7 separate regions of the Homo sapiens genome follow, and regions 1, 2, 3, 4, 5 and 7 are each linked to region 6. Evidence: promoter capture Hi-C in 16 types of primary human blood cells and fetal thymus (Javierre and others, 2016). All regions are on one chromosome and are shown on one strand. The core of a region is centred on a gene start or on the middle of the fragment in contact, and the rest is flanking DNA. Distances in the headings are between cores, read along the strand shown.

Region 1 (3,619 bases), core at 57-2,556, 640 kb before region 6:
GTTCTTCTTGACAACTGCACATTCTGCTACATGCTGTGATGACCAGGAGAATCATTTAAATTTTTATTTGGAGGACTCACTTCCAACTTGGAACACAAGCTGCAAAGGAATTCCCTACCAGCATGCCAGCACATCATTTGGAAGTTCAAGGTATTCTTGCTCAACAGCTGCACACACATTAAAAGTCCCTGGGGTACATGGCGCCTGCTGCCTGGGGTTGGACTCTGTCGCCGGGGATTCCAGAAATTAGAGTAGAATTCACAGCTCTGCCTCTCCACCTGCTGTGAGGTCTTCAAGTTACAACTCCGCCGCCTATCAGGGACCTCCGTGATTAGTAAGGGAGAAATTGTCATATTTTTCTCCCTAGATCACAGGTCTGAGGAAGCAGTTTCCCCAAGATTTTGTAAAAGTGGCTTTATAATTAAAAACATTGATTTTCCTATTAGAAAGGCTACTATATCCTTTGGAAAAAGCTTAGAAGTAGTCCGTGAGTCTTGGCTTCTTGCCGTGGCTCCCCCAGGATATGATCTTGGGCGAGTAACCCAGCAGCCCTGACTCTGCTTCCCCACTTATTAAACAGGTTACTAACACTGTCCTATCAGGTAGGACAATGAGAAGGAAAGAACCAAACAAGAGGAGTATCAGACGAGACCACCAGACTTAAGATCTAAAATCCGGCGTCCTCTGGAGGGCGGATGAGAAGAGGGGTACACTTGGCGGTCTGGAAAATGTCCTGGGGCCAGTTTCAGGTTTAGGAGCTTGTGGGTAGCGTGGTTTCCCACACGCTGCCTGGCTTCCTACTCTCCCCCGCAGGGGCTGCCTCTCCTCCCACCCCGGAAGGCCGGCACCGGCTTCCCGCACTCGCTGAAGCCCGCACGGAGGCCGGGTGAGCCTGCCGCGGCCTCCCCCTCCCACGCCCCGACGCCATGGGCCCTGCTCCTCTCCGCAGACGCTGCCCTCCCGCCTCAGGCCCCGGGCCCCGGGCACCGGGCCCGCCCTGCGTCCTGAACCTCGGCATCCCGCTCTCCGGTCCACGGGACCCTGCTCTGCGGACCGCCGACCTCTCCGCTCGCGGCTGGCCTCCCTCGGGGCCCGGGCCGGCCAGGCCTGCTCATTTCCTTGGCGGCCGCTGGCATAAGGCGGCCACACGGAGGGCCCGGGACAGCGGTCTGATGGCGCAGCCCCGCCTTGCCCCGGCGCTCTGACCCGGCCAGCGGCCTCACTCACCGCAGCGGCGCGTGCCCGCAGACAAAGGCCGGCGCCGAGCCCGCAGCAGCGCCAGCGCCGGCGCCGGCGGAATGGACTACAACTCCCAGGAGTCTCCCCGCGAGCCCGCCCGCCGGGCCGTGGGTCTCGGCGGCCCCGGCTTCCCAAGAGCTCTGTGGGAAATGTAGTTCTCTGGCGCGCCCTGCGCTCGGGCCCCGCAGGTCCCTAGGGCGCGGGGACCTCAAGCCGTCCCGTTTGGACTGGTAATCCGGAGACTCACAGCGGTGACCTGTCAGCGGACGCGGAGCCGGGACGGAGCCACGGCCGCTCAGATTAGCAGGATCTGATTGACAGCATCGGGGTAGCAGACGCTGAGCCAGGGACTCAGGAATACAGGGTTCTTGCAGGGCGTCGCGGAAGGAAACGAAGTTTTTGGGAGAAATCCGTTTGATAAAGCCTTGGCGGCTTCGAGGTCATGTGTTGAGCCTCTGGCTGCATGAACAAAAGCGAAGCCCGCTTTCATGGAGCTTCTGTGAAGAGCAACAGGAACACAGGCAGTCCAGTCGTCCTGAGATACTGGGAGGAGCATGGTTGCTTTTGAACACGTAGGAGATAAAGCCTCTCTAATAATGCCTGTTTTTTTTTTTCCTTCACTCTGTCTCCCAGGCTTGAGTGCAGTGGCACGGTGTCGCCTCACTGCAACCTCCGCCTTCTGGGCTCAAGTGATTCTCCTGCCCCAGCCTCCCAAGTAGCTGGGACTACAGGTCTGTGCCACCATGCCTGGCTAATTTTTTTGTATTTTTAGTAGAGATGAAGGTTTTACCATGTTGGCCAGGCTGTCTGATATGCCTTAAGCCTCTTTTAAACGCACTTTTCCAGGATCGGGGCCACATCCTGGAGCTGTTCTGCCTGGCCGGGTGTATCTCTGGGTCCCTGCCTCTGGAGCCCCTCTCCGTAGATGTGTCTGTCCATCCTCTTTCGTGAAGGACTAATAAAGAATGCTTCCTCTTGCTATGTTCTTGTTCTCTACCCCAAAGCCACAGATTTGTTAAATCAAACAACTTAATTTCACTCAATATGCAAAGGTGTCTGTAAGTAATAAGTTGATTCCTAAATGTTAGCTTTTACTATTGCACATCATTTCTGAATTTCATTCAACATTTATCCGTTGAATCCATTTTAAGTGCTGACACTGGGGATACGAATGTGAGCAAGACACACTCCGTGCTCCTAGGGAGGAGCTGACAGTCTGGTGGAGCAAACAAACACCACCTTCCTCACATGGGGGTCGGGGTGTTGCACAGCTAAGTCCCAGAGTGTGTGGTGCAAACTGTCCTGAAGCTCCCCATTCCTGAACTGCCCCAGGTGGCTCCTCTCCTCACTCCTCCCAAGTCTGAGAAAGGGGTGGAGGGCGGCACACAGCAAAGGCCAAGGCTCAGAGTCCTAAGGCTGCGGCCTCTGCTTCACACAAGGGTACATAGGTTCTGTTAAGGTCAAGACCGGCTGTGGACACTAGGACAAGTTTCAGATCCTGCCGTGAAGGTACATGACAAAGCATTGGTGGGAAAAGGTGGCTGTGAGGGGGGACCATCGTCACTTTTATAGATCTGCATAAATTCCCTTAAGGCGTCTCAGGAAAGTGGACACATTGAAGGGCCCAAAGCAGGGGAGAAAGCTGTTAGGATTGGGGTTGATGTGACCCCAGCCTCCATAGACAGACTGCCCAGCTGCAAAATGGGGCACATCCTCACCCACCACCTGCATCTTAAGGCAAATACTCAACAAAAGGGAGGGTGTGGGGTGAGGGTGAAAGGGAAATCATCCGCAGTGTAGATTTGAAAAATTACCAAAGAACAATTTCCTCACTTTGCAGGCATTTCAAAATATTAGGGGAAGGACAGATAATTCAATAAATGGTGTTATGACAAGGGCTAGACATTGGTGGGGTCGGGGAGTTGAATGTTTACCTAACTCCCATGCCAAGAGAACCTCCAGATGGATTAATGTAAAATGGGAAACACAGAGCCACAAAGGCCCAGAAGAACACATGGATTAATCTTCTTATAATCTTGTCATAGGGAAGGCTTTCATTTTTGTTTTTTTTTTGAGATGGAGTCTCACTCAGTCGCCCAGGCTGGAGTGCAGTGGCGCTATCTCGGCTCACTGCAAGCTCTGCCAGGGAAGGCTTTCTTAACCAATGTAACAAAGGCAGAAACAATAAGGAAGAAGATTTAAATCCAGCACTTCTGTGTGGCCAAAGTACCACTAAATGAAGTTAACATGTGACAAGCTGGGAAAATATTAGCAATCGTCATACTTAAAGACACCATACAAATCAATAAGAAAAAGACAGTTCACTAGAAATGTGGCAAAGGACAGCAACTCACACACACACAAATGAAAGGAAAATACA
Region 2 (4,127 bases), core at 809-3,308, 600 kb before region 6:
AGCACGGCAGGTCTCAGATGTGCTCGCCCTCTGTTTTTCTCGCTCCCCACTGGTGAGTGAGCTGTGGTCTCAGGGACGCCCCTTAGCAGCTGCTTGACCACGGGCAGGTCTTCACTTCTCTGCAGTTCAGTTCCCTCCTCTCAAAACTGGCAAAACAATAGTAACTACTTGATTGGGGTGATATGAGCTAACTAAATGAGTTAATTTCTATAAAGTCCTGACAACAATATTGGCATACAGCAAATGTCAGGATGATTTTAGCTCTTCTTGTTATAATTACAGATCTGACTGAATAAATCTAAAGTCCAGAGGCTGGAGGAACAGGTGGGTCAGGAAGCAGTTATGGGAGAATAAAGGAAAAGATTTCCGGAACTCTTTCAGAGCACACACAGAACAGCAGGCCACAGCTTTTCCCGGGGCTCAGCTTGGCCCCCTGTTAGCCGAGGCGGGTGCACCCCGAGGACCCCATGTGGTTGATCACCTACTTCCCTTCTGAGAGGGCCTTGTTCTGCTGGTCAGCCTCTTAGCTGAACACCCTGAAGGAAAGGTGTAAGGTATAAGGCTCACTCATCTCTCAGTGGGGAGGCCTTTCCTTCAACTCAAATAATTACATGTGGATGCCTCTAGGGGAGCCTCAACATCCGGTTGATAGAATCCCACCAGCTCCATGGCAGTTAATCAAATTCACAAATGTGGATGGGCCACAGAAGACGTCCAGGTGGGTCAGCAAGCCAGCAGTGCTTAGAACCACAAAATACCCTGACCCAAATAGTTACTATAGAAGGCAGAAACACGTTTACACAATTTCAGCCTGCATCTCAGAGGGCATTAAGGGGCCAGAACTTTGATTAAACACAAGTGTAGGCAATTATGAAAAAGCAGCAGTGGGAGAACAAGGGAGTGTTCTTAGAAATAGAAATGGTCCACAGTGGCCCAAATTAAAGCAAAACCCACTAGAGGCGGTGAGTCCCAAAATGGACTCTAAAATCTGAGGCAGGAAAGACTCCACCTGGAGAAATCCTTACGGAGCAGAGCAAGAGTAAAATGTGATGGAAATGGCAGGAAAGAGCGGAGAGAAGGCAGATATAGGATTCCCTCATGCATTTAGTGAGCAAAGATCCACTAGATCCTCCTCAATGGTCTTAGCAAGGGGCATCTAGCAGTGAAGAAAATCAGCTGGGCACGGTGGTGGCACGTGCCTGTCATCCCAGCTACTGGCGAAGCTGAGGTGGGAGGACTGCTTGAACCTGGGAGGTTGAAGCTGCTGCAGGCTATGATCACACCTGTGAAAAGCCACTGCACTTCAGTCTGGGCAACAGAGTGGGGCCCTGTCTCTTAAAAAAAAACCCCTGCTTGCTTGAAGCACATGTTTAGTGAGGGATGAAAGACAATAAGCAAGTCAGGACACATCGAATGAGAGAAAGCGGTCAGGGCTTTGGAAACCTAGAGTGAGGAAGAGGAAAAGAAGGGGTGGGGACGAGGGAGAGAGCTGCAGTCTTAAATAAGGTGGCCAGAAGGAGCCTGCTGTGCAGGGAGCTCTGAGCAGAGAGCTGAAGGCATCAGGGAGCAAGCGGGGAGACGTGGGGGCTGCATTCCAAGCAGGGGGTTGGTGCTGTGGAGACCCGGAGATGGTGGTGGCATTGCGGGGAGGGCTTGAGCTGGGGAGTTTGGGGGGCCACTGTGGGTGGAGAAGGGGAAGTGCTCAGCAGAGGAGGCCCATTTGGGACATCTTAGGACTCTGGGATGGAAAGCCATTGAGGGATTTTCAACAAAGAAGTGACATGACTTTCACTTAATGCTTTAACAAGACCATTCTGGCTGCTGTGTTGTGACTAGATTCCTGGAGGGGTCGGTAAGGGCAGAAGTAGGAAGAAGAGGGAGGACGCGACATGATTCTGGGAGTGACGGTGGTGGCGTGTCCTGGGCTGAGCGTGAGGGAGGTGACGAGAAGTGGCTGCTCTCTGGGTTTTCCTTGTAGGCAAGTCCAGCAGGATTTGCTGACAGTGGGTTTGGATGGAGGAGAAGCAGGGTAGTTGAAGACAAATGAGATTTGGATCTAAGCAACCGAAAGAAAGGCAAAGAAGTTCCCAGCGGACTGCTTTTGTTTGTTTGTTTGTTTTGTTTTTGAGAAGGAGTCTTGCTTTGTCGCCCAGGCTGGAGTGCAGTGGCACAATCTCGGCTCACTGCAACCTCCGCCTACTGGGTTCAAGCGATTCTCCTGCCTCATCCTCCCGAGTAGATGGGATTACAGGCACGCGCCACTAAGCCTAGCTAATTTTTGTATTTTTAGTAGAAATGGGGTTTCACCATGTTGGCGAGGATGGTCTCTATCTCTTGACCTTGTGATCTGCCTGCCTCGGCCTCCCAATGTGCTGGGATTACAGGCGTGAGCCCCCCCCGCACCCAGCCTGCGGACTATTTTTTTATGGGGGGGGGGGGGGAATCAGGAGTTTGCCCTTTGTGTTTTCAATTTAAGATTCGGCATTTGGGAGGAGCTGTCTGGTGGACTACAGGAAAGGCGAGTGTGGAGCTGGTGTGAGAAGCTGGCTGGGAGAGGGCTGTTCCTTGGTGACTCACGGGCGGAAAGGTGGCCTTTAAACAGTGAGGGTGGGTGAAGTCATCGGGGCAGGAGCGTGCCTCCAGAGGGCCAGGGACTGTGCCTGAAGCTGGGCTCTCCTGGGCTACAGGGGCTGCGAGGGAGGCTTGAGGGGCTGGGGAGCGAGGGGCAGGCTGAGACCCTCCTGTGGGAAAGCATTGCAAGCTGGGAATGTTTAGCGGTGGCCAGTACCTCAGAGTGCAGCAGGGCGAGGCGGAAAAGAGACTGACCATGTCTGAGTGGTTTTGGTGGAGTGCTGGGTAAAGGTGAATGTGTCAGGGTGTGAAGGAGAAATAGGAGCTGTGCGGAAACGGGTGCTGGGAAAGGGGGAGGTTGCTGGGGAAAGAGGTGTGGGGTCCTGAGGGGGCCTTTGAAAGGTAACGTGGAGAATTCCTACTGGATTTGGCCTTCACTGGAATACCCTAGAGGAGGGGGAAGTTGGAGGTGAGGGCGTGGCCGGTGGCTGAGTAGATGGCCTGGGGGGGCCTGGCCCAGAGAGCTCTTGGGAAGGTCTTAGGGCAGGACCAGGGGCCGCGGGGGCAGCAGATGGCACACGGGGGCGGGGTGTCGGAGGCGGCCTGTGCAGATCCCCTGACCCCCTGCCTTCTCAGGGCTACAGAAACAAGGCCGTCATACTTAGAGGTGCTGGGCGGCTGAGGAGTGGAGCGGGTGGGAGGTGCGGGGCTGCAGGGGGATTAGCTCCCAGCAGCCGTGGGTCCCCCTGAGGATGCCGGGGTCATAATGCACAAAGCCACCCTCTCCAAACACCTCCAGCTGCCCAGGCGAGGCGGCGCGCAGGCGGAGAGCAGGAGGGACGCGAGGGTGAGGGGCTGAGCCGGGGGCCAGGGCGTCTTCAAGGCAGCGCTTTAAGGAAAGGGCCATGGAGTTCCAGCTGGGGCAGGACAGGAGGAGCCGGGGACGGAGGTGAGATTAGTGGCCTGAAGCTCCCAGTGAGGCCAGGACTATGGGAGAGAGGGTACGGAGGGCATCAGGGTGCGGGGGGTGGTTAGGGGGTGAGGGCGTGCGACACAGCGTCAGAAAGCGGACGGAAGCTGGGGGTGAGCAGGACTCGGGTGCCGTGAGTGTCTTGGTGACCACTGTGAGCCGGCGAGGTCCACTGGGCCAGACCCTGGCCCGAGGTGGCCCCGGAGCTGTGAGCGGGAGGAAGAGGGAAGGGCGGAGTCTGGAGCCCTCACGCCTTCCGCCTTGTGCGCGGTGCAGGCTGCCGAGAGCCCGGCCGGGCAAGCCTTTCCGCCGTGGTCAGTGACTCGTTTGCACAAGGACTTTTTAGGGAAGAGAGAAGCCAGGCCTTCGCTGTGGGCCTAGCCCCTCAAACCGCAAGCTCTCCCCCTTGGGGTCCTCGTCGTGAACGCCCTTCTCGTCTCCCGCCGGGCTCACTCTTTCGCATTTTGCTGCGAAAGTTTACTGGAAATAGGTCCATTCACTGGTCGATTCAGAGGGACACTAGAAACGCGATGCCCATATCTAACACATCCTGGCCTTTTGAAGAGGGATAAAAAATAATACCCAC
Region 3 (3,702 bases), core at 980-3,479, 630 kb before region 6:
GCTTCCATCTCTTACTAAGGGTCAGCCAGGAAATCAGACCAGTTTTGATCCTATGGTTGTTATCCTAAAACAGTATCAGTCTCATTTAAAATATATCTACAATTGGCAACAAACACACAAAACTTGGTCTGCCCTTTATGGAAGCGTAAGTCTTTAATGATTTTCGGTTTCCCTCTGTCCAATTTCCCACCTGTTTCTATTCTTTATTGTTTAGTTTGTGATCTTAAATGCTGGTTTAAAATGATGCTAACTTACTCTCTTTTCCTGATGGGAGTGTGTGTGTGTGTGTGTGTGTGTGTGTGTGTGTGTAGACAGAGAGAGAGAGAGAGAAAGAGAGAGGGGTTGCATCTAGTTCACTTGGTTCATCAGACTTGTTAGTAATATATCCTCTCTTATTGCAGTTTAGTGATTTTCTTTAATTCTTCATTCCTTCCAGTAAGTGGTTTTGGACTCATCTAGGGCTTTTTGTTTGTTTGTTTTAAACGGCAATGTTCTCATTCACTACTCAACAATTTGCATGAAACCATTGCATAATTTTGACACACACACGTAATACACTTGGGATAATATTTTCAGAAATGGCTTATTTGGGTTTGCCTTTGCTCTTGAAGCTGGCTATTCTGAATGTAACACTTGTTGATCCTCCCAAAGATCTGATGCTTATGATTGCAGAGGGGCAGCTTGATGCTACCTTGCTTCACGTTCATTTAATCTGACTTTTCCACCAATCTACCCTAAACTCCTTTGAACAGCAAAGACAGAATATGAATTAATGCTATAATTAGCACTATGTCAAATTATGTCTGAATATGAGAAGGGATAGGAGATAAATATGAAAATGTAAAAGATAATTTGAGAGCAGTGAGATGAAGTGTGAATGTTTGCACTTAAAAATTTTTATTCTTTGCTGTTAAAATAGTGTTTATGCAAAAATAATTTAGAAAACCATAAAAATCCCTGAAGAAAGTCTGAGAAAGAGGTGCAAGGAGAGAGGGAGAATTTCCAGCTTCATCAAAACTGTGTGCAGATGGAGCCTCTGCAGGTTTGTCATCCCAGCAGTGATGTGGACAACACGAACACAGCAGAGGCAGCCACTGGTCTTTAACGGCACCACCAGCCCATCCCGAAGTCCATCAGAGGCACCTGTGAATCCACAGGTTCAGCGGACACTTATTTCCTGGGTGCCTATGCCATGGAGGCCCTCTTCCTAGTGCTCTGTGGATGCTGGTGTGGGCCCCTCTCTACAGCTCTAGGAAGCAGGGGTCTTAGTCTGTTTTCTGTTGCTTATAACAGAATACCTGAAACTGGGTAATTTATAAAGAAAAGAAATGTATTTCTCACAGTTCTGGGGGCTGGGAAGTCCAAGGTTGAGTGGGTGCATCTGGTGAGCATTTTTTTTTGCTGGTGGGGACTCTGCAGAGCCCAGAGGTGGTTCAGGGCATCATATGGCAGGGGGCTGAGCGTGCCATCTCAAGTCTCTTTTCCCTTTTTATAAGCCAACAGTCCTACTGCATAACACATTAATCCATCAACCCCTTCATCAATCCATTAATCCAGGAATGGACTAACCTATTCAAGAGGGCAGAACCTTCATCACCCAGTCACCTCTTAAAGGCCCCACCTCTCAATACTGCCATATTGAGGATTAGGTTTCAACATGAGTTTTGAAGGGAGGAGTATTCAAATCACAGCAGCAGGGACCATTACTACCCTCCTGAGAGAAGGGGACCTCATGGGGGCCATAGTCAAGGGCTCACCTCCTGCTGCCAAGCTGGGAGGCTGCATCACCAGCCCAAGTGGCCCGGGCCCCGGGGTTCACGCTTCTGATTCTGGACTCCCTGTCCCCTAACCATCCCCCATCCCATCCCTCCTTCACTCCCTGGGCTCTACTTTCACGAATCCGCTGTCCCCTCCTCAGGCCACAGCTCTTTCCTCAGCAGACATCATCCTGCCTGTTACAGAGGAAGTGGGCACTGCCGGGCAGAGCCCCAGCTCTTCTGCACCACGTTCAAGAAGGCAGGCACCACACAGGCAACCTCACGCCTCCTTCGGAAGCAGATGGAGTTTTTTTTTTTTTTTTGCACAAGGTTACTCTAACCTGTTTGTCTTCTTGGGGTAACTTGTTCATTCATATATGAATTGTCACCCATTCTATCAAACAAATAAAATCACCATGACAATTGCTATTTTTAGGCACATTTTAAAGCTATAAATGAGATCATGTTAGTTAATAAAAATTATCTCCTCAGTTAAATGGGTATTAATTACAATTTCCAAAATTACAGCAAACTCTGAACCCTCCTTTTAGACTGGCTGGTACCATCTGTTCTAGCTAGGTATTATACTTTACTTAGCCATTCCCCTGCTGTTGGACATTTAGGACGTTTCTAATTTGAAATTTAACATTGGGTGGTTTTCCAAGTATTTATGTATATATGTATTGGTGCTGATTATGACGACGTCAAATTTCTCTCCGTCTCTGCCTGCCGGCTTCAGCTGCGGCCCCTCCTCTCGGAAGGTTCCTCAGGAGTTCTCCTGTCCAGTTAGAGGTTTTGGGGTTTCCTCCTTACGCTGGTCTCAGCGACTTCCTGCGGCTCAGAAGCAGCACAGGCTGGACCCAACCCCTGCCTCGGAAAACCACTGTGCTGATGCGCCAGCAGAGGGCCGAGAGGACAGCCGCGGCGGAACCCAGGGGCGACAGTTCCCTGGGGCCAAGGGGAGCCATGTGGAGCCCGGCCCAGGCTTGGCGCCCAGGCTCGGCCGGGCTGCTGTGCGCGCGGGGAGTCCGGGTGTCCACTGGCCCGAGCCAGGGTCCCGCACTTAGCGATTTCCAAGCGCGACTTAGACGTGGCCTAGTGGGTGTTTTTCGCTGATGGAAACGCTGGCCGGGACTGCCCCCAGCCTCCGCGGAGAGTGGGAAGCTCCCAGCAGGGGCGCGGCGGGTGCGCTCCGGGGCCCTCCCCACTGCGGGGCTTCATCATACGAAAAACCTTTGGAAGGGCCTGGAGAGCTTTGGCCTTTGTTTCGTGGGCTGTTTACTGACTTTCGCTCCCAGTTAAATCTTCCAACCCGAAGACATCCTTCTGAAGTCAGCAGCACAGATTACACCTAAGGGGAGGCGACTCGGCCTTCTTCCCTTCCCTTCCCTTCCCCTCCTACGGCAGGTCCCGCTGGCGGGAGGACGCCCCGCGAGTGGGGTGGGCCGCGAGCGGGAGGAACACGCACGTCCCGGGGCGGCCGGAGGGGCCCCGCTTGCGCAGGGGGTTGTCAGAAGACTCGCACGCGGCAGGAGGCCTGGCCGTGGGTGCAGAGTTCCCAGTAGGACGCCCACGAAAAAAACCTAACTCCCATTATGTTCTGTAATTCTAGTCTAGCCCCTATTTCATGCTTGATAGAGAGCAGTCGACCCCTTCTTGGTGAATTCTGCCAAGTTAGTCACTTCTCAGTCATGTTAATTAATTGTTTTAGAGACAAGGTTCTGCTCTGTCGACCAGGCTGGAGTGCAGTGGAGCGATCACGGCTCACTGCAGCCTCCGCACCTCCGACTCCAGCGATCAGATTCGCCTGGGTTGTCCAGCTTTCAAGTCCACCGGGGTCCCCATGGAACTTCTGGCTGCCCTCCCTCCTCAGCCTTTCAGGGAAGATGGGGCTGCTGTGGGTGCCAAATGTGCCCAAACCACCTGCACCCCTGAGGCGGGTGAC
Region 4 (3,872 bases), core at 751-3,250, 580 kb before region 6:
CGCCTGGCTGAAAACAAAGAAATCAGTGAGATGATTTCAGACAACAGTAAAGTTACAAAAAAAAAATAGCACAAGGTGCTGATAGGGAGGATGGAGAGAGCGGAGGCTGCTCACAGTGGTCAGGGGATGCCCAGGAGGTGACAGCAGTCGCAGTGTGAGGCTGCCACTCACCCTCAGGGAGGGGTTTCCAGGCAGCAGGGGTGAGGGCAAAGGCCCTGATTGAAAGGAAGCTGATGTGGGGCCAGAAGGCATATATGTGGGCAGAGAGGCAGGCAAAGGCTGACCAGAGAGCCCTGGCCACCATGGTGGGCACATGGATTTTGTCCTTAGGGCCACAGGACACCGTTGAAGGGTACGAGTGGAAAAGTGACCCTCTGAGGCTGCGTGTGGGGCAGGCTGTAAGGGCTGGCACGTGCCGGGGCCCAGGGCAGGGGGCTGTGGGCTGATGTGGGCTGTGCTCATGGCCTGAGGGAGGAATTCAGGAAGATTCTGAGCCTTTTGGCCTGAACAACATGTTCTGAGATTGGCGAGTGGGAGATAAAGAGGTTTGGGAGGAGTGAGGGGAATTAGCTGTGGGATTTGAGGAGGGCCCAGGCCTGAGCCCTGTGTTGATCCAGTATTCAGAGAAGGGAGAGGAGTGGGGCCCAGCGAAGTAGGCGGGGAAGGGGCCAGCAGTTTGTAAGGAGAGATGGGGATGACATAGAATATATATATATATATATGTATTTTTTTTTTCTTTGAAATGAGACCTATCGCCCAGGCTGGAGTGCAGTGGCGTGATCTTGGCTCACTGCAGCCTCCACCTCCCGGATTCAAACGATTCTCCTGCCTCAGCCTCCCAAGTAGCTGGGATTACAGGCATCTGCCACCACGCCCAGGTAATTTTTCTATTTTTAGTAAAGGCAGGGTTTCACCATGTTGGCCAGGCTGCTCTTGAACCCCCAACCTCAGATGATCCGCCCGCCTCGGCCTCCCAAAGTGCTGGGATTATAAGCATGAGCCACTGCGCCCAGCCCAGAATATTTGTTTTTCAGTTAGAAATGTATTTGGCTTCTAGTAATGGAGACCAAACATAACAATGATTAGAATCAGATAGACATGTTCTGGCCTCTATTAGTGAAAAGTGGGTTGTGTGCTTAGGGACAACAGAGTTGCCCCACAGATATGAGGGACACTGACACCACCTATCTTTATGTTTTTGTCAGCTTTAGAACACAACTTCTGTCCTCAAGGTCAACTCAGAGTCTGTGGTGGCTGCTGGACCTCCAGCCATCACATCTGTATTCTCACACCTAGAAAGTGGGAGGACAGAAAAGCATGACGGCCTCCTGCCATTTAGTGGTCTCCCATTTAACCTGCTTTCCTGGTTAAGAAATTGTGAATTCCAGTCACAATTTTCATTATATTGCCTTTTCAGATTCTTGCTATCCTCGTCTGTAAAAATAGGGAACTCTTCGCTCATTCGCGATTCATTATTCATGCATGCATTCATGTGTATTCAGCAGTAGGCTTGGGGTTGAGCCTACCACTAAATGCACCTGGGTAAGGTGATCAGCATGGCCTGGGATAAAAAGTGATTATCCCTATCTGTGAAATGATGAACACTGGCCGAATGACAGGCCGGGTGTAAAGTGCTCGGTCTTTGTTACTCCACTTCATGTTCTCAACAGCTCTATAGGCTGCTGTGGTCTTATTTGCTGCATGAAGACAGCGGGCCTGCAGTAGGTGTGCCTCGTAGTGATCACCGCACTGTGTGGGGACTGGCGGTGTGGACCATGGTGTCTGCTGCACCTGTACAGCTGGGTCACAGTAAGCCTCCCGCAGGCACTGCTCTGGGCCCAGCAGACTTGCTGACGACGGGGACAGCTCCGTGCAGGAAGCCTCAGAACAATGCATCGCTGCAGCCCAGAGGTCTGGGCACGCCCACGGAGATTTCCCCTGTGTGTTCTGGAATGTTTAGTGTGGTTGACCTTGCCAGTGATTTATGAAGTATCTTAAAAATAGTTTTTACCTAGAAATAAAATATGCCCCTGATTCTTATGCTTACAATGACCATTGTACTTGTGATGACTTCAGCTACAGTTGTTTGAGATCAGTATTATATTCACCCAGAATACTTAATCAAATAGTTTCCCTAACAAGCACTTGGTTTCTGAGCAGAATTTCCTCTAGTGGTACAAGGAAACCATTCATGTCTTACCCTTAAGAGGTGATGGATAAAATTATCCTGATTATGAAGAAATTATTTGTCCAGTGAATAAAGTCTGCTGACCCTATTGTATAGACATTCACATTTTTCTGAGTCTGACCTCACTCAGTTATGGCCACAGTGGGTGGTGGCCCTACCTGTGCCGGGACACCTCTCTCCCCCCATGTGGTCACTGTCCCTGGTGTGAGAAGTGTCCCCCCCAGGTCGGGCCTCGTCTGGCTCTGGCCTGGACCTTACTCCTCCTAACTGCACTCATCCACTTAGAGAGGGCACTTTGATTTATGGTGTTTACATTTGTGTTTCTCATTAGCCAGCATTTCCTTTGTGCAGTCTGTGTCCCAAATATCCTTAATTTTTGGGTTATCAGCAGGCAGAAGGGCAGCAGCCTGTAATGCCCCTTGTGGGGCCTGAGGAGTCCCTTCCCGCCTGGCAGAGGGACACACTGAGGGCTGCACCACTGAGTCATTCCCATGCTCTCTCCACAGAATCAGTCCAGAGACTGGGAAAGAAAACTGGCTAACCTCTCCAAGGGCCACTTTTTTAAAAAAGTAGATTTTATTATTTTTAAAGAGCATTTTCAGGTTCGCAACATAATTGAGTGGAGAGTATTTTCAGCAATATTTTGCTGACATACATTATCTCATGTGATTCTCATTACAGTCTTGTGAATTAAGCATGGGAGGTATTGTCATCTTATTTGAAAAAATTAAGAAAGTGATGTTCCAGGCACTAAGTAAGTTCAAGGATATGGGACTAGCCTGGTAAGTACAAGGATGTGGGACTAGCCTGGTAAGTACAAGGATGTGGGACTAGCCTGGTAAGTACTAGTATGTGGGACTAGCCCAGTAAGTACACGGATGTGGGACTAGCCCGGTAAGTACTAGGATGTGGGACTAGCCCGGTAAGTGTTAGGATGTGGGACTAGCCCGGTAAGTACTAGGATGTGGGTCTAGCCTGGTAAGTACTAGGATGTGGGACTAGCCCGGTAAGTACTAGGATGTGGGTCTAGCCTGGTAAGTACTAGGATGTGGGACTAGCCCGGTAAGTACTAGGATGTGGGTCTAGCCTGGTAAGTACTAGGATGTGGGACTAGCCTGGTAAATGCTAGGATGTGGGACTAGCCCGGTAAGTACTAGGATGTGGGTCTAGCCTGGTAAGTACTAGGATGTGGGACTAGCCCGGTAAGTATAAGGATGTGGGACTAGCCTGGTAAGTATAAGGATGTGGGACTAGCCTGGTAAGTATAAGGATATGTGACTAGCCCGGTAAGTACTAGGATGTGGGTCTAGCCTGGTAAGTACTAGGATGTGGGACTAGCCTGGTAAATGCTAGGATGTGGGACTAGCCCGGTAAGTACTAGGATGTGGGTCTAGCCTGGTAAGTACTAGGATGTGGGACTAGCCCGGTAAGTATAAGGATGTGGGACTAGACTGGTAAGTATAAGGATATGTGACTAGCCCGGTAAGTACTAGGATGTGGGTCTAGCCTGGTAAGTACTAGGATGTGGGACTAGCCCGGTAAGTATAAGGATGTGGGACTAGCCCGGTAAGTATAAGGATATGTGACTAGCCCGGTAAGTACTAGGATATGGGACTACGCCGGTAAGTACAAGGATGTGGGACTAGCCCAGTAAGTACAAGGATATGGGACTAGCCTAGTAAGT
Region 5 (3,584 bases), core at 464-2,963, 580 kb after region 6:
TGGGTCTCAGACTTCAGCATGAATAGGAAGCCCCTGACGGGCTTGTTAAAGCATGGATTGCTGGGTCCCAGCCCCAGAGCTTCTGATCCAGTAGAGCAGGGCTGTCCCTGTGAGAGTTTCCTGAGATGCCGATGGTGCTGGCCCAAGGCCACACTTTGAAAACGCCCCTGAATGGCGTCATTGCTACATTGCTGAAGTGATTACGCTGAAGCATCATGAACAATCATCATACAATATGTTTCTAATCTACAGTTTCTATATAATAAAAACAATTTGAAAATTTTCTGAATGTCTAAGTTTTCAACAAGAAAAACTTTACTTTTAACCCAGGAAAATATCCACCCAGTCCTTAGCTTCTCATAAGATTATAATAAAAAATTGTCTCAGAATATTATAATAAAAAGTTGTAATCACATACCTTCAATCAATATTCCAAAGTAACAGAGACATGTCACTCACAGAATTAGGAGTTGGGCCACTTGGGTTGGACAAGGTCAGGTCACAATTCTCAATTTGTACAGCTGATCAGAGCCAGATCTCCTGATTCCTGGTGCGTCTCTCCCTCAGGCCTCGGTTTCCACGTCCATAAAATGGGATAGTTTGCTTGTGCTCCCTCCAGACCTGATAATTCTTCTACCCAGGGTTCACATATCTTGACTCAGTTTGAAGCAGAACATTCAGACAGGTAGTACTGTCAGAGAGGAAATGGTCTGCCCTGTAAGGCAGGACTGTGGGTGCGAGAATCTGCGCTGGAGGGCACCAGGTGGAAATTTCATAGGGAAGATTCAGATTGCAGATTGGACACTTCATTCCTCTCACACTGTGAACTTCTACAGGTCCCTGAATTACAGACCCCATTCCTGGGACAAAGCTTAAAAGAAAGAAACAAACTTTAAAGAAATATAGGAAGGTGCCTTTGTTACTATAATGATTATGGATATCTGTTGTAAAAATAATACTTATTGAGCCCATACATCTCACTTGCAGAAATCCAAAGCTATGTTATTAAAGCTGTTTCAGGGTTTCAGAAGATAAATAAATTGAAGGTCTCTAAACCTTCAGCAAAACTGTTCCAACTTGGATTAATCTGGAACTGAATGTCACATTGAATCCTGCCAAGGCTTGGCAGGGCCCCAGGTAGGAATGATTTACATTCCATCCAGAAAAGCGGCTTTGGGTCCTGGAGGAACCAGTGGTTTCAATGCAGCCCTGACCAGGATAGCTGGATGGGAGTGTTCCCCTGGGTGGGCTCAGGTGGCACAAGGGAGATGAGGGTCACCCAGTTAGAGTGCCAAAGCACTGCTCATCTCTCAGTCACTATGACTGGTAGAAATGCCACCAGTTTGTGCAATGAAACAAGTCTACATTTATTCCCTGTGAAGCTGTGATTCCTGGTGTAGCACGCACAATCCAAAGGTCAGAGTTGAGACTCAGTTCTTGCTCTGGGAGTTTGTGGACATGACCTTCAACTCGAAGCCAGAAGAACTGAGTTTAAGACCAGACTGTGCCCCCTTAAGAGCTCTGTGATCTGGGCAAGTCAAATCGCCCCTCTGACTCTTCAGTTCCTCATCAGTAAGTGAGGCTAAATTCCCATGCCTGGTGGACTCCACAGGGGACCCCTCACCAAGAGTTATTAAGGTGCAGCTTCCCCCACTGTTAATACCTACAGTTCATGCAAATCAAAGAAGACTTTAGACCCAACTTGAGTGGCTTTTATAGAGTATGTCACAAAGGCAACAATATGGCATAAAGTACTCAGCACCTTTCCCCACCTGTCAGTGGAAGCCTGGTCCTGAATTGTTTGTGGTGTTGAAGGATGCCAAGGAGGCTCACCCTGTGCTAAGGTGTCACTTCAGGGCACCAGGAGAGCTATAAGAAGAGGTAGATGGGAAGTGGTCATGAAAGAGGGCCTGCCAGAGCTTTTAGGGGAGGCCAGAAGAGGGACTGTGGCCCATGAAAGGGTGAGGAGAAGGCCATGCTGACAAGGACAGTGGCGCACATGTGTGAGGATTTTTGGAAATCTTCTGCTGTGTGTCGCACCCCTGATATGCCAGCCCTCCAAAGACTTAATTAAAGTCTTATGTTATCTTTTTTTTTTCTTTTTTTTTTTGAGACAGAGTCTCACTCTGTCACCCAGGCTGGAATGCAGTGGTGCGATCTCGGCTCACTGCAAGTTCCGCCTCCCAAGTTCACGCCATTCTCCTGCCTCAGCCTCCTGAGTAGCTGGGACTACAGGTTCCTGCCACCATGCCCGGCTAATTTTTTTTTTTTTTTTTTTGTATTTTTAGTAGAGACAGAGTTTCATCATGTTAGCCAGGATGGTCTCGATCTCCTGACCTCGTTATCCTCCTGCCTCTGCCTCCCAAAGTGCTGGGATTACAGGCGTGAGCCACTGCGCTCGGCCAATCTTATGTTATCTTAAAACACTTTTGGAGTAGAAATTACATTTCTCTTCATGCATCACAGTGCTAAGACTAGAGCTTAAGGCTGAGGCTGACAGGCCTAGATAACTTTGGGTTGCATATACTTAAATTAAGAGTCAGCACATTTTAGGATGAAGCTTCAGGTAATGATCATGAAAACAATTCCTAGCATCTCTACAGACTCCATCATTTTCGAAATGCTTTCTCACATTAATGCAATTCCATTCTATGTGTTAAGCAAAGCATAGGCTTTGCTCCCCTACAGAGCTTGGCATTTAATGCAGAGGCTACTTTTCCTAAGCAGAATAACCAAAAGAATTCCATGTCCAACTACAGCAGGATAAGGAAAGCTGTGAGGTATTTTATTAATTAGAAAATGCTGGATCCTCCTGTCTAGCTGAGGTAAGGATGAACTTTGACCTCAGAGCCTGCATATGGTAGTGTTTATGCAGAGATGTAGTCCCATATAGACAAATAAATATGGTTGTCTTTATACATATATGTGTATACACACACACACACACACACACACACACACACACATCTCACTTAGCTAGACACAGCCCCATCTTGAGGGCAGAGAGTGGTCTTGTCTTTCCAGTTCACCTCTTCCTTCCAGTATCCAGAGGTGACCAGTAAGTGTTGGTGGTGGAGAGAATGGTGCTAAGGAGAATGGGCTCATCTGTGTTACTAGACTGTTAGCGGGAAACAGAAGCCATCTGATGACAGGTCACCTATCTTTGTGACTGGGTGAATGAGTTGGGGTGGGGGCAGCTTTCGAGCTTTCATACAGCTCTAAAGACAAGGCTGGTCCACCTCTAGTCTGAGCTCCATACCAGGCTCTTGCCAGCACCTTCCTCCCCACTCGCCAGTGAATGAGGTTCTTCTCATTACTCTCCCTTCTCATACGCATGTATTTCTGACGCGTCTATACAACAGCTCTGGGCCTTGATCCACCCATATCAGCCCAGTTCGTCTACAGGTCACCCTTGTGTTTCTCACTGTGCCTGGCAAGGGCACCACAGCAGGGCTCATGGGTGTAAAGGCAACATGGTTACCAGGGGAGGGGTGCGTGAGTGTACAGGAAGGAGGACATGGAAGGCACAGGTGGTGGGCCAAGGCCTGACCTGACAGGGGAACCAGTGCAAAAGGCGGCCTTGT
Region 6 (3,854 bases), core at 277-2,776:
TTTGTTTCCATAGAAATGCCTCTTATTAAAGACCAGCTTGCCTGCATCAGCTGTAGAAGCCCAGCCCCTCTGTAGTGCCACCTCCTAGAATGGACACAGCTGTTTGACCAAATGCTTCTACTCTTAGGACTAAGAGACTGATTCAAGAAGATATGGGACAACATATTTATTTATTTTTCTTTTCTGCTTATCCCAATTTGTTTTTTCCCCTTCTTTGCCTTCTTTTCCTCTAACCCAAATCTCTCCATAATCACTGATTCAGCTGTTGATAATGTGAAATTCTAGGGAAGTTCCAAACAGGAGGATTGAAGGAGCGCAGGGAACTTGGCCCCAAAATATGGCTCCCTGGTATGAGTATTTTCAATTAAAGTCCCTCAAGATCAACAGAAGCTGGAAGAGTCCTCTCCCTTATCTACATGAAGACCCTGCAGACCCACCAAAGAGAACAATTACTTTTCCTTCTCCTCCCTCTTATCTCATTATCTATTGCAGAAAAGAAAACCAACACGTGACCACACCTGAACAGACGCTTTCAAAAAAATAATCCATTTCTCCAGCTTATTAAATTTTCAAAGAGAACCATTTACGAATAACTCTCTGTTTCTTGACCCATTCATTCTCCTTAATAATAATTTATTGCCCCTCAACAGAATCACCTACATTCCGCCTTCCACCCTCCTCTCTGAAAAAACGCTGTATAAGTATCTGGACCTCATGGGATATTGGGTAATCACCTTATTTTTCCCGTGTACACGTTAATAAATTTGTATGCATTTCTCTTATTAATCTGCATTGTACACTTAAAAAGTATTAAAAGAGTGAAATTTATGTTATGAATATTTTATCACAATAAAACAATATTTTAAAAAACTGACAAAAATTCTTTTTAATTTCTTTCAAGTGAGGAATTACCAACTACTTAACAGGGTGCTTAGAATGGGGGATTTTACCAGATAAGTGGCATGCTTTTTACAATTAACAATTGCTGTTATTTACTGAGTATCCACTTTCTCTGCCAGCTCCTGCGTTAAGCACTTTACATATACTAATTCAAATCCTTAAAAAAGAAAATAAAGAAGAGAAAAGGAAAGAAAAATAAGAACATGTAAGGCTATAAGGTGCCTCATCTTTGCCAAATTCTACAGACTGGCCAGGAGACTGCAGGCCACTGCAGCTTCCTAAGGCCACTCAGGACAAGGCCAGTCCGCAATTTGTTTCACTGTGAGACGGCTGCGCGGTCAGAGCCCAGACACGGTCATCAGACTCCCGGACTTGGATTCAGCTCCACATGGTGTCACCCTGGGTAAAGGATGTACATCTCTGCGTGCCTGGGTTTGTATGGATGGCAGCATGGATGCTCAGGCAACTGACCCGTCAGGACTGCAGCAAATGAACAGAAGCTGGGGGAGAGCGCGGGCTGGTGCTGTACGGAGCTCTGGCGCAGAAGGCGCTCACCAGGGGTGCCCAGAGCCGGGGTCTGTGCGCCGCGGGTTGGATCCGGGTCACAGGCTCTGGGTGGACAGAGTGAGAAGACAAAATGAGGATGTACTCCTCAGATGCTCACGAAAGGCCTCCTTCCCCTTCTTTGGGAACGACCCCCCCCCACCCCCTCCCCCCAACAGGCAGTCCCAGGCCGCGCCAGGACTCGGCCGCAGGCAACTCGGAGGAGCGGGAGCCCAGGGGCCTCAGGAGGGCCTCGGGAGTGGGGAGGTGAAGGGGGCGTCGGGAGGGCCGCGGGTGGGAGGCGGGATAGGGAGGCGGGGAGACTCGGAGCGGGGTTGGGGAGGCGAAGAATGGAGGTGGGGAGGTGGGGAGGGGGGCTTCGGGAGGGCCGCGGGTGGGAGGGGGATGGGGAAGCGAGAAGGGGGGGCGGGGAGGGGGGCCTCGGGAGGACCGCGGGTGGGAGGTGGGTGGGGAGGGGGGCCTGGGGAAGGATGGAGCCCGCTGAAGGCAGGCGATGACGCAGGCCCAGTGTACTTCTCCTGGGGGCTCCTTTCTAGGCCCACGGAAGCTCCGTGTTGGTTTCTTTGTACCCATATCACACTCACTGTATTTCTTCTTTCCTTTCCTCTCCCAGCAGCTGTAAGCGCCCTACAGTTTGCATGGGAAGGCAACAGGGACTTCCCTTTTGCACTGTCTGCGGGTACCGCTGTTCCAGCCCTGAGAGGACGAGGGGACGCTGCGCTGTGGGGAAAGTCCGGGTGGCAGGAGGTGGCGGGGCTCCTGGAGGAGGTGCTGGGATGCGCTGCTGTGGCTGCAGAGAAAGGTCCCGAGGACGCAACCCGTCCCTTCCCCCGAACTGCGAAGGAGCCCCGCGGGGAGGACGGGCAGGGTCTCCCGGAGGGAGGAACAGGGGAGCCTGGAGTCTCAGGGTTGCGGGGAGCAGAGGCGTTCTGGGTGGTGAACGTCCCCAGCCTGCCCTCCCTGCTCACTGCGAGGTCGCGCACCGGCTCTGCTCCAGGCCTTCCCTCAGCCCTGGCCTCCAGGCAGTTTCCATTTTTGCCAGGTGGATTCTGTACGGCTTCATTTATTCAGAATCTGGATCAACAAATGAACACTCAGAGAGGAAAAGGGTGTTTGGAGGGGTGGAGAGGTTTCCAAGCAGGTGCCCACCTGAGGGCCCCCTGAAAGGGGACTTAAAGCCGAGTTTCCAGCTGGGCCACCCTTTTTTTTTCTTTCTTTCTTTCAGAAATATAAACAAAGAGCTTGAATTATTTTGAAATAACTGTTGGTAGCTGGACTGTGTTCTCTTGACCGCAACATTGCTCTGGGACTGAATCGCGTGGGTCTCTGCTCTTCCTAAGTGTTACATAAGAATAGCGAACCCATGAGGTCAGCTTCTAAACCAGTTTCTTCCCATAACCTCCTGGACCAAGTCCCAAGCAAGGCCCAGAGGAGCTCAAGGACCCACTCTCCCCGGGACACTCCTCGCTCTCTAGTTGGAAGGAGGAAATGAATGTCCCCCAGTAATTGAAGGCTGCTCATGTTTGTGTAGAAAAGCCAAGCACAGGCCCATATTCTAGAGGGTTGCTTGCGGCAGGCGGAAGGCCATCGAAGGCAAAACGAAACAAATGAAAAGGCATCTTTTGAAGCTAATGGAACAGATCAGGTGGTCAAAAATGGATAAACAATGGCATTTGGAGCAAAACTTTCAGCTTCTTCGTTTTAGTTCGACAGCCCCAGGAGGGCATGGAAGCTTCTCGCCCTCCTCATATGTCTTGCCCCAGGCATCTCTGTGTCTCTCTCCTCTGTAACATCCTTTATAGTAAATGTAAGTAGGCCTTTCCCTGAGCTCTGTGAGCTGCTCTAGCGAATTATTCAAGTGTTAGGAGGCGTCCTGGGAACATTGATTCGTGGGAACGCCAGTGGGTCAGAAGCACAGGTAAGACCACCTTGCCATTGGCATTGGAAGTGGAGGGCAGGCTTGGGACATGAGGCTTGGGCTTGTGGGGTGTGAGGCCACCTCCAGGTAGAAGGTGTCGATGTTGGAATTGTCCGATGTAGAACTGCCTTCTTGCTTGTGGTGGGGAGAAAACCCACACATTTGGTCACAGAAGTCTTCTGTGTTGATTGTTGTTGAGTGAGAGAAAAAAAGTACTTTGGTTTGTTCTGATATTTTCAGAAAGGCTGTAATCAGTTCCTGGGCAATGCGTCATAATACCTCCGCCTCAGTACACTCCCCATCCTGAGGGGCGGCGCTTGCCATTTCTGAAAGGATGCCTCTGTGGGGCCTGGGAGCAAGGCAAGGCTGTGTCATTTCAGTCCTCTCAGCCCAGTCCCCACCAGGACCTGCCAGCCTGGAGTGAAAATGCATCTTATTGTCCTTCTGTCGCCTTCCAGAGACAGACTCCTAA
Region 7 (4,097 bases), core at 14-2,513, 570 kb before region 6:
GCTGCACCTGCTTTGCTAAGCAATGTCCTGGGTGGTTTGAAGCCCAGAAAACTGAATCACACATGGAGTGAGACTCTGAGGAGCTAAAAGAAGTTGGTTTTATACATCATAAACCCAAGTGAAGAACCAAAGAAATGAACAATGTAGAAGGAGGCAATTGACAAAGATGAAAGTTAGAATTAATGACATTAAAATAGTAGCAGTAATAAATAAAACCAAAAACAGTTTTTACGGAAGACAAATTAAATATACAAAAGCTGATTCTTTCAAAAGACCAATTAAATTTACAAATACCCAACAAGCTTGATTAAGGAAAAGGAGAGAAAGCAAAACTAACTACAGATATAACAGAGATATTAAAAATTATAAGTAGTATAACATGTAACTCAATGACATCAAATATGAACAGAAATTATATAAGAAATAGATGATTTTCTAGGAAAAATGTAAACCACTGCTATGGTCTGAATGTTTGTGTCCCCTCCCAAATTCATACATTGAAGTCCTAACCCCAAGGTGATGGTATTTGAAGGTGAGCTCTTTAGGGGATGACTAGGTCATGGGAGTGGAGCTCTCATGAATGGGGTTAGTGCCCTTACAGAAGAGGCCCAAGAGAGACGCCTTACCCCATTCATCATGTGAGGACACAGCAAAAAAGTGCTGTCTACAAACCAGAAGGCAGGCTTTCACCAGACACCAAATCTGCTGCTTCCTTGATCTTGGACTTCCCAGCCTCCAGAGCTGTGAGAAACAAATTCCTGTTGTTTATAAGCTACCCACTTAATGAGATTTTGACAAAGCAGTCTGAATAGACTAAGATAATCACCAAAATTAACCTAAGAAGGAGGAGAATACTAAACAGATCTGTCACAAGTGACAGAAGAGGTGAGAAAAGTACTTAGATAGCTTTAATTAAAAACAATTCGGGCCAGGTGCGGTGGCTCACACCTGTGATCCCAGCACTTTGGGAGGCTGAGGCAGGCAGATCACGAGGTCAGGAGATCAAGACCATCCTGGCTAACATGGTGAAACCCTGTCTCTATTAAAAATACAAAAAAATTTAGCTGGGCGTGGTGGTGGGTGCCTGTAGTCCGAGCTACTCGGGAGGCTGAGGCAGGAGAATGGCATGAATCCGGGAGGCAGAGCCTGCAGTGAGCCAAGATCACTCCACTGCACTCCATCCTGGGCAACTGAGCAAGACTCTGTCTCAAAAAAAGAACCAAATTCAAATAGATTTTGAGAGGAGCTAATTATAGTATGTCATTTCTGTTTTAAGCTGTTTTAGATCATAGAAAAAGTTACAAAGTTCCACAATTTGTTTTATAAGGCTACTGCAACCATAATTCCAAACCTATAACAAGACCATTTTCACTTACAACTATAGATAAAAATTCTAAATAATTAACTATACTTATCTAGCAGCATATTTATAGACTGATACAAAGTAATCTGATAGAATATTAAAAATGGAATAATTACCACCTGGAGAGGAGGAAGAAGATACTGAAAAAGTACTCCAAGAAATAATGGTTGAAAACTTCCAAAATTTGGTGAAGTCCAGAAACCTACAAAACTCCAGAAGTTGAGTGAACCCCAAACAGGATAAACCCAAAGAGATCCACACCAAGGCACACCCCAGTCAAACTTCTGAAAACTAAAGACAGAAAAGTCTTGAAAGCAACAAGAGAGAAAAACACCTCCTTACCCACAGGGAAAAACAGTTCAAATGACAATAGATTAATCAAGATCAAACCTCCAACACTAGAAAGAAGTGGCATAACAAGTGCTGAAAAAGAGAACTGTCAACCCAGAATCTTATATTCAGTGAAAATATCCTTCACGAATGAAGGGAAAATCAAAACATTAAAGATGAAGGAAAGCTAAGATAATTTGTTGCCAGCAGACCTACCCTAAAAGATTGGCTATAGGAAGTTCTCTAAACAGGAAATGATAAGAAAAATCTGAGAACATCAGGAAGAAAGCAAGAACAGGATGAACAAAAATATGGTTAAGCCCAATAGTCTTTTCTTCTCCTAAGTTTTCTAGTTTGTTTGACAACTAAAACAAAAATTATAACTCTAATATAGTTCTACCAGCATGTGAAGAGGATGTCAGTGGGGATGGTGGAGCAAGGATCTCAAACCCCTCTCCTCCTCTTTATAAAACTAGCAATAATACTGCTAAGAATTGTGAAAATTAACTTTTTCAGAACTCTGGAAACTAACAAAGCTTGTCACAATCTGGAAAGCACTTACTCAAGAAAAACACTAAGTTGTGGTAAGAATAGCAAGCTTTGTAACATTTTAACGAGCCCTATTTCTGTCTTCCCTGTACAGCTTGGCAGTAGCCTTGGAAGCCAACAGCCCACAGCAGAGGTAAAAGACAGCAGCCCAGCAGCCAGTGGAGGGGCCAGAATGGGGCTGCAGCTTCTCCAAAGACCCATTCCCAGAGAACTGCCATTGTTTGACCTGCTAGTCATTCCCCACTCATAAGAGTTGTCTTTATTTGGTCTGACTCAGAGCTTGCCCAGTGCAAATAACCTTTTCCTCAGTGACATTTGTCAAAAACAATCAGTGGTGATGGTTTAGCATCACTGCTGCCTGAGGTGATGATAATAGTTGGGGCAAATGACAAGCTGACCATAAAAACCCAAAGGGAAAAGCTAGAGACTGAGATGTCCAAAGGAGGCTTTGAAAAACTCTGACACATCCTAGGAACCTGGAAGGCCACTTGCATGAACAGGGTTGTGCAAATGCCCAGGGCCGTGCATGTGTTCAGGAAAGAGCTGAGAAGCTCTAAGTTCTCACTTCTGGCTGATATTGAGGTCCTGAAGAGCAAAAAGGAGAGCCTAAGGCAGAGCTGTCAACTACTTGGCTGAGTGTAGAAGGCATTTCCCAAAACGTACTCACAATCCCTTGGCAACGACTGGGAGACTTACTGGCTTCAGACAGTTAAGAAAATCTATGCACAATTGTGAGCTGCCCACTGAGCTAACTGAGCAGTGACTTCTGCGGTCATTTATGACAAAAAGGCAGAGTCTACAATATTAATTCAGGAAAGTCACTAAAACAAACAAACAGCAGCAGCAAGAACAACAATAAGTGGCAACAAAAAGAAATCCCAGGGAGTGGAGAGAACCTGAATTTCAGAGCAGCCACATTACATCATTTGAAATGTCCAGTTTCAACATTCAAAGAAACAAGAAAATATGGTCCGTGTACAGGGGTACAAAGCAGTCAACAGAAACTGTCCTTGAGGAAGTCTATACATTGTCCTTACTAAATAATACCGAAGCTATTTTAAATATAAAGAACTAAGGAAACCATATCTAAAGAACTAAAGGAAAGTATGAGAATAATGTTTCATCAAATAGAGAATATCAACAAGAGATAGAATTATACAAAAAAACAATAGAAATTCTAGCGATGAAAATAATAACTCAATTGAAAAAAGTTCACTAGAGAGGCTGAATGGGATATTTGGGCTGGTAAAAGAATCAGTGAAGTTAAAGGTAGGTCAATTGAAAATATACAGTCTAAGGAATAGAAAGAAAAAAGAATAAAGAAAAAGAAACAGAGCCTAAGAGATCTGTGGGACACGATCAAGCATACACAATATGTATAATGAGAGTCCCGGAAGGAGATGAGGGAAAGGGGTGGTAAAAATACATGAAGAAATAAGGGCTAAACCCCCACAAATTTGATGAAAAACTTTCATCTCTACATGCAAGAAGCTCAGTGATCTCCAAGTACAATAAACGCAGAGATTCACACCTCCGCACCTCATAAACAAACTGGCAAAAACAAAGACAAAGAGAGAATCTTGAAAGCAGCAAGAGAGAAGTGATTTATCACTACCTGTGATCCTCAATGAGATTAACGGTTAATTTTTTAAAAATCAGAAATGGGGAACAGAAGGCAGTGGGATGACGTATTCAAAATGCTGAAGGAAAAACACGTCAACTGCCCATGCGGGGCGGCGCCCGCCTGGAGGGTGGGGATGCGGGGCGCGGAGGGGCCATGCGCCTGGGTCTGCACCTGCCTCGTTCTGCGCCCCGCGTGTGCACGCGAGATGGTGAACCTGGCGGGCACCGTGTG

The links. Contacts are between HindIII fragments. The CHiCAGO score rates a contact against its expected background, and 5 or more counts as called.
Region 1: the fragment with the promoter of ZNF32 here is called in contact with the fragment with the promoter of LINC02881 in region 6 in 3 of 17 cell types (endothelial precursors, megakaryocytes and M0 macrophages); the score reaches 7.5 in endothelial precursors.
Region 2: a contact is called between a fragment that was not itself captured here and the fragment with the promoter of LINC02881 in region 6, in 13 of 17 cell types (M0 macrophages, M2 macrophages, M1 macrophages and 10 more). The highest score is 13.6, in M0 macrophages.
Region 3: a contact is called between a fragment that was not itself captured here and the fragment with the promoter of LINC02881 in region 6, in 10 of 17 cell types (erythroblasts, megakaryocytes, endothelial precursors and 7 more). The highest score is 9.9, in erythroblasts.
Region 4: a contact is called between a fragment that was not itself captured here and the fragment with the promoter of LINC02881 in region 6, in 12 of 17 cell types (M0 macrophages, M1 macrophages, monocytes and 9 more). The highest score is 12.5, in M0 macrophages.
Region 5: a fragment that was not itself captured here is called in contact with the fragment with the promoter of LINC02881 in region 6 in 1 of 17 cell types (endothelial precursors); the score reaches 7.7 in endothelial precursors.
Region 7: a fragment that was not itself captured here is called in contact with the fragment with the promoter of LINC02881 in region 6 in 11 of 17 cell types (M2 macrophages, total CD4 T cells, M0 macrophages and 8 more); the score reaches 10.3 in M2 macrophages.

The regions. Positions count from the first base shown.
Region 1 is chr10:43,647,575-43,651,193 of GRCh38, forward strand. It overlaps ZNF32 (zinc finger protein 32), which reads right to left and starts at 1,307. Exons shown (of 3, transcript NM_006973.3): 1 at 1,228-1,307. All of the region lies in intron 1 of ZNF32-AS3 (ZNF32 antisense RNA 3), which reads left to right. It overlaps ZNF32-AS2 (ZNF32 antisense RNA 2), which reads left to right. Exons shown (of 3, transcript NR_047558.1): 3 at 1-445. RefSeq lists a silencer at 813-1,332. The HindIII fragment of the contact is 4,172 bases long and covers 472-3,619 here.
Region 2 is chr10:43,685,976-43,690,102 of GRCh38, forward strand. No RefSeq gene overlaps it. Among named protein-coding and RNA genes, the nearest start is that of ZNF32, 39 kb to the left of the region's middle. The HindIII fragment of the contact is 9,619 bases long and covers 1-4,127 here.
Region 3 is chr10:43,664,752-43,668,453 of GRCh38, forward strand. The region is part of intron 1 of ZNF32-AS3 (ZNF32 antisense RNA 3); the gene reads left to right. Among named protein-coding and RNA genes, the nearest start is that of ZNF32, 18 kb to the left of the region's middle. RefSeq lists a silencer at 2,567-2,746. The HindIII fragment of the contact is 8,678 bases long and covers 1-3,702 here.
Region 4 is chr10:43,706,059-43,709,930 of GRCh38, forward strand. No RefSeq gene overlaps it. Among named protein-coding and RNA genes, the nearest start is that of ZNF32, 59 kb to the left of the region's middle. The HindIII fragment of the contact is 5,182 bases long and covers 1-3,872 here.
Region 5 is chr10:44,873,217-44,876,800 of GRCh38, forward strand. The region is part of intron 2 of TMEM72-AS1 (TMEM72 antisense RNA 1); the gene reads right to left. Among named protein-coding and RNA genes, the nearest start is that of TMEM72, 36 kb to the right of the region's middle. The HindIII fragment of the contact is 1,689 bases long and covers 870-2,558 here.
Region 6 is chr10:44,291,224-44,295,077 of GRCh38, forward strand. LINC02881 (long intergenic non-protein coding RNA 2881) reads left to right here and starts at 1,527. Exons shown (of 3, transcript NR_164139.1): 1 at 1,527-1,710; 2 at 2,078-2,266; 3 at 2,690-3,426. It overlaps LOC124902544 (a long non-coding RNA gene), which reads right to left. Exons shown (of 3, transcript XR_007062369.1): 3 at 2,691-3,731. The HindIII fragment of the contact is 4,267 bases long and covers 1-3,194 here.
Region 7 is chr10:43,724,115-43,728,211 of GRCh38, forward strand. It overlaps the pseudogene SPRING1P1. Among named protein-coding and RNA genes, the nearest start is that of LINC02658, 53 kb to the right of the region's middle. The HindIII fragment of the contact is 1,927 bases long and covers 301-2,227 here.